Regions from separate parts of the Homo sapiens genome. Here region 2 is linked to region 1. The links are contacts of gene promoters, found by promoter capture Hi-C in blood cells and fetal thymus (Javierre and others, 2016). All regions are on one chromosome and are shown on one strand. Each heading gives the region's core, a stretch centred on a gene start or on the middle of the fragment in contact. The rest is flanking DNA. Distances are from core to core; before and after follow the strand shown. Region 1 holds the start of PCDHGB6 (protocadherin gamma subfamily B, 6). Region 2 holds the start of PCDHB6 (protocadherin beta 6).

Region 1 (4,211 bases), core at 680-3,179:
CTGCAGAGCGAGGTACCATATCGAAGAACGCGGAGCCGTCAGGACCCAGAGCTGGGTACAGCACCCGCGGTGCGTTGTCATTGCGGTCTCCCACCAACACGCGCAGGCTCACGTTGGCGCTGAGCGTGGGCGAGCCGTGGTCGCGGGCCTGCAGCGTGAGCGCGAAGGCGCGCAGCTGCTCGTGATCAAAGGCGCGCTGCGCGAACACCACCCCGCTCTGCGCGCTCACTGACACGTATGACGACACCGCCAGGGGCTCTAGGTCACTCGCCACTATAGAGTAGGAGATGTGGCCATTGAGCCCCAAATCCGGGTCAGAGGCGCTCACTTGCGCAATGGAGGCTCCTGGCGGGTTGTTCTCGGCCACGTGGACCACGTAGGACGTCTGGTCGAAAACTGGGGCGTTGTCGTTGATGTCAGCGACATACAAGGTGATGCTTCTACTGGAAGAAAGAGGCGGCTTGCCCCTGTCAGTGGCTACGATGGTGACATTGTATTCTGGTGTCTGCTCTCGGTCCAGGGCTCCATCTGTCACCAGTTTGTAGTAGTTATTGGAAGAAGAATAAATCTTGAATGGAATGTCTGTTTCTATATTACACCTGACTTCTCCATTTCCTCCGAAATCCAGATCCCGTGTTTTGAAGAGGGCAACAACCATTCCTGGAGGTGAATTCTCCAAAATCTGATCAGAGAGAGAAGTGATGATTATTTCTGGGCTGTTGTCGTTTTCATCAAGGATTTCTATGATTACTTTACACTGGGTAGAGAGACCACCTCCGTCCTTCGCTTCCACTTCCATGGTGTACCTTTCTACATCTTCAAAATCAAATGACTGGTTATTCTTAATCATACCTGTTTTCTCATCCAATGAGAACATATGTTTTGTGCTCTGGGCAGTGCTTCGGAAGTAGTAGTTTATCTCAGCATTGACCCCCTCATCCTGGTCAGTGGCTGTCACTTGCAACACAGGGGACCCAGGGGGCAGATTTTCACTAAGACTAATTCTATATTCGTCTCTGCTGAAAACCGGGGGGTTATCATTGGTATCCTTGACAGAAATTTCTATGTGAGCGGTGGCACTTCTTGGTGGGTCCCCTCCGTCCAAGGCAGTCAATATCAAGCTATGAGATCTCTGTTCTTCCCGGTCTAGGAGTTTCTCCAGAGATAACTCTGGGTATTTGCCACCATCGGAATTAACTCTAACCATTAATGAAAAATAAGGATTAGAGTTTATCTTATAATCTTTAATTGAGTTTATGTTTATATCAGGATCCGTGGCAGGGTCAAGCGATAGTCGTGTACCAGCGGATGCAGATTCGAAAATTTCTAAATGTATTTCCTTTTTATCAAATTGAGGGGCGTGGTCATTAACATCCTCAATCACCACAATGACATGAAAAATATTTAAAGGATTTTCCACCACAGCTTCCAATTGCAACTCACATCTTCTTCTCTCTTTGCATATTTGCTCACGGTCTATTCGGTTCTTCACAAGTAAGTCCCCGCTCTCCGCGTCTACGCTGAAGTGCAGCTTCTCCGCGCTCACTCGCAGCTTGCGAGCCGACACATCCAGGACACTGAGCCCTAGATCCTTAGCGAGGTTCCCCACCACCGAGCCCTTGGCCAGCTCCTCCGGAATCGAGTAGCGGATCGGCTCACTCAGGGTGGGGTAGAACAAAGGCAGCAGCAAAGGAAATAGCACCTGCCGCGGGCCGGCCCGGCGCCTCTGCGCGCAGCTCCCTCCCATCGTTCGCTCGGGTTCTCGCTGGGTCCCCGCTTTTCCAGTTGGAGAAAGTGCACTCTACCGCGCTAAAAGAGCATTCGGCCCAGGACAGGAGGAGTCCCGGGTCTCGGAGCTGGCAATCCGCTGTGCTGGGAAAGGTCTGCGCAGCCGGGAGGCTCTGTGTGGGAGCTGGTTTTCTTCTTTCTGTTGTTGGCTGCGCAGGGAATCCCAGGCCAGAGGCTGACGGATCCCCGGCGTCAGCGCTTGCTCTGCACTGGCCGACAGCGGCGCCCAGAGGCTCCGTGCGGGACAGCAGCCCGGTTTTTCATTTTGAATTCGGTCTCCGAAATGTATATATTCTTCGAAAATGCAGGTGTACATCCCCCTCAAATTTTGCTCTCACCATAATATTATAGTAGATATTTCTATGCTTTGTGTTTTAAATAAATCTATTATGCACAATTTCAAACTTATACAACAGTAGGGAGTATATATAGTGAACCTTCACATAGCCATCACCCCACCTTCAACAATGATCACCACAAAGCCAATCTTTGTTTAATATATACTGCGCTCCCCCATTATTTTTAAGTAATACGAGATATAGAATGTCAACCAATGCTTCTTTTTAAGATGAGACATTAAGGTCAAGAATTTTATCTTTCAGCTTATGTTCTACAATCTGTTACCAATGCACAATAAGTTAAGTCCTACATAGCCTAAGAAAAACAGAAATAAAGATTTTCCATACTCCATTCAGTCATCTGTCTGGTGAGCCTCGTGTTCTGGTTTTAAGGGCAAGAGACATTTTTGTGGTATCGAATAGTAACTACCTACCATGACATACAAGCCTTCATGGATATCTGTTATGTTTTCCCCAAATTAACATACATTTCAATATTTATAAATACTAAGTATGAAGGCTACTCCTCAGAACAGAAATTGTAACAATTTTCTTGTTGCATGGTTAAAAATATGAGCCTGAAGTATGCTTTATTTTTTTTGCTACCCACTTAAGGGGGAAAACGTGTTTGAAATAATTAAAATGTCTGTATGTCATAAAGGATTCCCAGACACTTCAGCTTTTTTTTCTTAAAAATAAAGCAACTGAAACCCAAATAATTACAAACAAATAAAACAATTCTTCATTTCCACAGAAATGCCAGCAGTCATCAGTGTATCTATGGATCACATGTTTAGCATAGAATTTTGAGTCAACTTCAAAGCTTATTTTCAAATGTCTTGTGAAATGTTATTTACTATTTGAAACAACACTATGTTTAAAATAACATTAAATAATACATTATTCTCTTCCTTATAGCTAAAAACAGTAAAATAGTTTTAGAATCTTCCCAGCAGTTCCTGAGAATATTTTCTTAAATTATATCTGATATGCAAGTTCATTTCTAGACTCAAAAGTTGGAGAATTGAGCCAGAAATAATATATAAGTGAGAGAAATATTTTTAATTCCTTGTTTTGTCATTTCACAGTGTCCAGTCTTAGAAACTTCTCTTGAGCAAGCATATACTATAGAAAAGAAGAATGTCCTACTATTCTCCATAATTTAACATTAAAGCATTAGGAAATTAAGACCTTTGAAGATATGAGAATAAAAGATGTGACAACTTTCACCATTAAAGGGAAAAAATTGGTTTACTAGGGTTTGGAAGTGGATAACTGAAGTTTGAATCTTCGTCAGAAAATATCTGTAAACACAAACAGACTTTACACACTTGTGATCTGAAAAATATAACCTCAAAGAGGTGTTTTCCTGTCATAGAAATGGAAGAATAGAAGCAATAAATCTGGGCTTTCAGCTGTTTCTCTAAGAAGAATACATTTACCTTTTTATCAGTTTACCCTTACAAACATAGTATGACCTGAATAAATGATCGTAGGAGTAAGAATTTGCTGGGTGAGGTGGTTCACACCTCACCCAGTGCTTTGGGAAACTGAAGCAGGAAGATCGTTTGAGACCAGTCTGGGCAACATAGCTTGCTAGCCCTCCCACCTCAGTCCTAGCTACTGTGAAGGCTGAGGTGGGAGGATTGCATAAGCCCAGGAGATTGAGACTGCAGTAAGCTTTACCCACACCACTGCATTCCACCCTGGACAACAGAATGACACCCCCATCTCTTAAAAAAAAAAAAAAAGGAGTAAGAATTTTATGATATGAGTCCACTGCAACCAATGAAGCAACCCTACCCAAAAAGCCCACATCAATGCAGGCTGAGAGCTACCCCATGAAGTATGGTTTACGTTGACAGCAGGTTAATTATTATGAGAACATGAAAGTTATATCAGCAAATATAACTAATAAATGCCTCCTTTCAGTGTTGGAGCAACAATTAGGCCCAGTGAAAAGTGATGAGAAACACACTGATATCAACTTATACTACCTTAAGTACAGACAGTTAAAGAGAAAGCTAACTATAATAGAAAGTTAAGGGCCAGGCGCAGTGGCTCACGCCTGTAATCCCAGTGCTT
Region 2 (4,008 bases), core at 225-2,724, 260 kb after region 1:
CCAAATCAGTGACCGTGATAGTGATGTTGTACTCGGCTCTGCTCTCTCTGTCCAGCGCGCCTTCTGTTACCAGGGTGTAGAAATTCTCCACGGAAGGTCTTAGTAGAAAGGGGAGATTGTTCTCTATTGAACAAATAACCTGTTGGTTATGTCCAGAGTCTGCATCTGAAACACTGAAAACTGCCACTGTGATCTCTGGTAAGTTTTCTGGGATGAGGCTGATGAAGAACGACATGGTGAGTTCAGGGGCATTGTCATTCACGTCCAGGACCCTGACGACTAAAGAGCATTTTCCTGATAGGCCTCCACCATCTGTAGCCTCAACATCCACGTCATAAGACTGAATTTCCTCAAAATCCAAAGCCTTTCTCAGCCGAATTTCTCCTGTGATTGCGTTTATTTCGAAGGGTTGGTTGACGTCATCGACTTGAAACAGGGCGTAAGATACCTTCCCAAACGATCCTGCATCTAAATCTCTGGCTGAGACGGTAATAACCAGAGAGCCGAGGGGGTTGTTCTCAGGGACTTGTGCTTCATAGAGCTCCTGAGCAAACTCGGGGACGTTGTCATTGATGTCCAAAACCTGGATCTGAATCTCGGAGGTCCCTGACCGGGGCGGAGACCCGCCATCCAGCGCGATCAGCGTTAGCCTGAGTTGGGGCTGCTCCTCGCGGTCCAACGGTTTGTCTAGCACCAGCTCCGGGAACTTCCTGCCTTCGCTGCGATTGCGGGTGAGAACGTGGAAGTGAGGGTTGGAGCTGATTGTGTACCTCTGAAGGCCGTTGCTGCCGGTGTCTAAATCGTGTGCCATTTTCAAAGGAAATATCTTTCCTGGCATAGTAATTTCTGATATTTTCAGGAGCATTTCTCTGGCAGGGAATTCCGGGGCGTGGTCATTTATATCTCTGACTCGCAAGGAAGCCTGAAAAAACTGCAAGGGGTTTTCCAGTAACACTTGGAAAGGTAGCACACACGGCTCAGTGGAGCCACACAGCTCCTCCCGGTCCAGTTTTTCATTTAGCAGTAAATCATGGGTCTGTGGATCAAACTGCAAATGTTGTCTGTTCCCTTTGAAAACAACCCGAGCGCCCCGCGAAGCCAGCTCCCCCACCCTCAGTCCCAGGTCCTTTGTCAAGTTGGCCACAAACGTGCCACTTTCTGTCTCCTCCAATACGGAATACTGAATCGATTCAGAACCCACCTCTCCCCAAAGCATCAATAAAATGAAGAAAGCCACTTGCCTTTTCTTGTTCTGTACTTTAGTTTGCATCATGTCTATTATGTCTGAATACGGAAGAAAAATCCTTTTCAGCTCCCAATCACCACATCTACCGTCGACCCTCTCGGATGTCTTTGCAGAGATTTTTAAATTCGTTCTTACAACTTGTCTGGCGACGACTGCCTTCCCGGACACATCTATCTCAGCTTTAGCTGTAAACGTGGTCTGTATTTTTACTTGGCTTCTGGATGAAACGGAGTCCACCGAGTCTGCAGAGCTTTCATTCACTCTCTTAGCTTGTACCGCCACCACGCGTTCAAACTAATAACTTCATGAGATGTTTTCAGGTCAATAGCATTTCAGAAATCTGAGCATTATAAAGACTTTTAAGTCGAGTCAGTGTTTCTCAAACTGAGTGCGTGGACCGCATGCATAAATAATTGCTTGCGAGCGTTGGTTTTTTTGTGTGTATGTTTTTGTTTTTAAGCCAATTCCTGGGTTCACTCCCCTCTAGAACTTGAATCAAATTCCCTGGTGGTGCTAATTAAGGAGAAAGATTGAAGTGCAGATTCTACACTTCAGTCTTTCTCCTTTGATGCTTCAGCAGTGCAATTTATCTCTGATGAACTATTTAATCTATTAGTCCAAGAGGTACACTATTTAATTGTCCCAACAAACAATGCAAAACAACGAAGTTTGTTAGCAACAATAATGGTAAAATAAACAATAAATTATCTAAATTATATGACTCATAAATGGCATGAAAAAAAAAACCTACTTTGTTATATAGTTATGCCTGCACAGTAAAAAGAACAATTAGGCTATTAGGAGGAAAACTGAGGCCAAGAAGTACGTATGATACATGTATCTAAGTAAATTAAAGTATTTAAAAGAGGGACTAGAAGCAATCAAGTAGTTGTCATAAGCATTTTAGGATTCTACTCCATTTTTGCATGGATAGAATTAGACATTGTTTTAACAGTCTTGTGCATTTTATTTTTTGATCAAATTCCCCTCTTACATTATTTAATCAAGGTCCAAATATATTACCGTGTTGTACAAACATGATGCAACACAGAAAACAAACATTCAAGAATCACCTTCACCGTCTTCTCACAGCAAAAAGAACACCAAGTCCAATAAATACAGGCCAAATTAAGGTACTGTTAAAACAGGTGAGTTACATTTGAGTGAATGCCATGGAATTCAATGATGGAATATTATGGCTATATCCATTCCCATCTCACTAGTTTCTACTCAGATACATTGGAACATGTATCTCTAAACAAACTGAAAATGTGTGAAATAGATTAGTGCACATAGAAGAGGTAAAATATGCCAAACAATTCAATTCATTTCAGATTAATTTCATATTTATTGAGAGGTGAAATCAATTGAGTTCAAACAAAGTTCACTTCAGGTAAGGGCCAAGGTGATAGAAGATTAAAAATCAAGATATTTTCAAATACATAAATGCTAGGCAAAACAAATAAGGCTAAATAAAATCTAAACTCTGAATAGCTGAGATGATCTTGTAGTTCAAAATCACCTCTATGTAGCCAGAAAAACAAAAGATTATGAATGTGACCAGCCTCCAGGGTTCACTTGATAGATGCTACTGGGAACACACTGTTCCTTGAGAATGTAACAAAATGAAATTATGAAATAAACCAACAATAATAAACATATTGGACTGGTGTCATCTCTTTGCTGAAACAAGGCCATTATTTCCTGCTCAATCTTAAATGCTTCCTTCTTTCGGTGAGCATTCTGAGTTCTGATTCCAGCTTAACGGCATCCACAAAGTCTTTTATTCACTCTGTTTCTCTGAAGCACCACCAGGCATCCTCGAATATAGGTTGTTGAATTATTTTTTTACGTCAGAGCAAATTTATCAGCAGTACAGTATTTGTCAAACTCCATTTAGATCCTTGAAATGTCTTTGATAACATTGGTAGTTATATAGAAAGAGGATAATAGCTCAAAGTACCCCAAAAAGATATCAGTTGGGTCTATCAAGAAACTGCCTTTTTATAGAAAATGGATTACGTTAGATTGTTTCAGGAGAATGTTTCTCTGTGTTGCCCTCTTTTGCTTTGATTTGATTGACTAGAGTAGAGTTGAATTAAGTTTGCATTCGTAAACATGTTCTCACAAGGACTCATTAACTTAAAATTTTTATTATGGAAAAATTCTAACATATACAAAGTAAACAGAATAAGCCTCTGTACACAATCAGTTTCACAACATTCTGTTGTCTTGTTTTGTCTATACCTTTCTCTCCATTCTCTGCTTCCCGCTTAATGATTACTTTTGTATAGTTCTTTTCTTAAGGCAATGTTTACAGAAATTGAAATGCACCAATCTTAACTGTACCATTTTAACAAATGGATTCATGTGTGTAACTCACACTTTTTTCAAGATACGGAACATTTTCATCATTCACTGGAAATCATCTTAATCATATTTTGAAGCTCAGTTTTGTTAACTGGGGAGCAAAACCTTGGTCTCATCTGGACACATGATGGAAAAGTAGACAATGTGAAAAAGCACCATGCCCCATATTCTTTATGCTCATGTATGCTAAAGTGAAGTGATAGATTAATTTAGCTGGACTGTTACCAGCAAGCTGAAATAGTATTTCAACTGACTGAACATTGTAAAGTATGTTAAAATTAATTTTATTTAGTTAGCCTGTAATGACAGGTTGAACAGCCCTTGTCCAAAATGCTTGAGACCAGAAGTGTTTCAGATTTCAGATTTTTTAGATATTAGAATATTTGCATGTA

What was found. The method cuts DNA at HindIII sites, captures the fragments that hold promoters and counts their contacts. A CHiCAGO score of 5 or more calls a contact.
Region 2: a contact is called between the fragment with the promoter of PCDHB6 here and the fragment with the promoter of PCDHGB6 in region 1, in 4 of 17 cell types (endothelial precursors, naive CD8 T cells, naive B cells and 1 more). The highest score is 7.2, in endothelial precursors.

The regions. Positions count from the first base shown.
Region 1 is chr5:141,405,739-141,409,949 of GRCh38, reverse strand. It overlaps PCDHGB6 (protocadherin gamma subfamily B, 6), which reads right to left and starts at 1,929. Exons shown (of 4, transcript NM_018926.3): 1 at 1-1,929. The coding sequence starts at 1,747. The region is part of intron 1 of PCDHGA1 (protocadherin gamma subfamily A, 1); the gene reads right to left. The region is part of intron 1 of PCDHGA2 (protocadherin gamma subfamily A, 2); the gene reads right to left. All of the region lies in intron 1 of PCDHGA3 (protocadherin gamma subfamily A, 3), which reads right to left. It also overlaps PCDHGB1, PCDHGA4, PCDHGB2, PCDHGA5, PCDHGB3 and PCDHGA6, and 6 more genes. RefSeq lists an enhancer at 1,471-1,520. The HindIII fragment of the contact is 5,535 bases long and covers 1-2,951 here.
Region 2 is chr5:141,147,523-141,151,530 of GRCh38, reverse strand. It overlaps PCDHB6 (protocadherin beta 6), which reads right to left and starts at 1,474. Exons shown (of 1, transcript NM_018939.4): 1 at 1-1,474. The coding sequence starts at 1,273. It also overlaps PCDHB@. The HindIII fragment of the contact is 6,099 bases long and covers 1-4,008 here.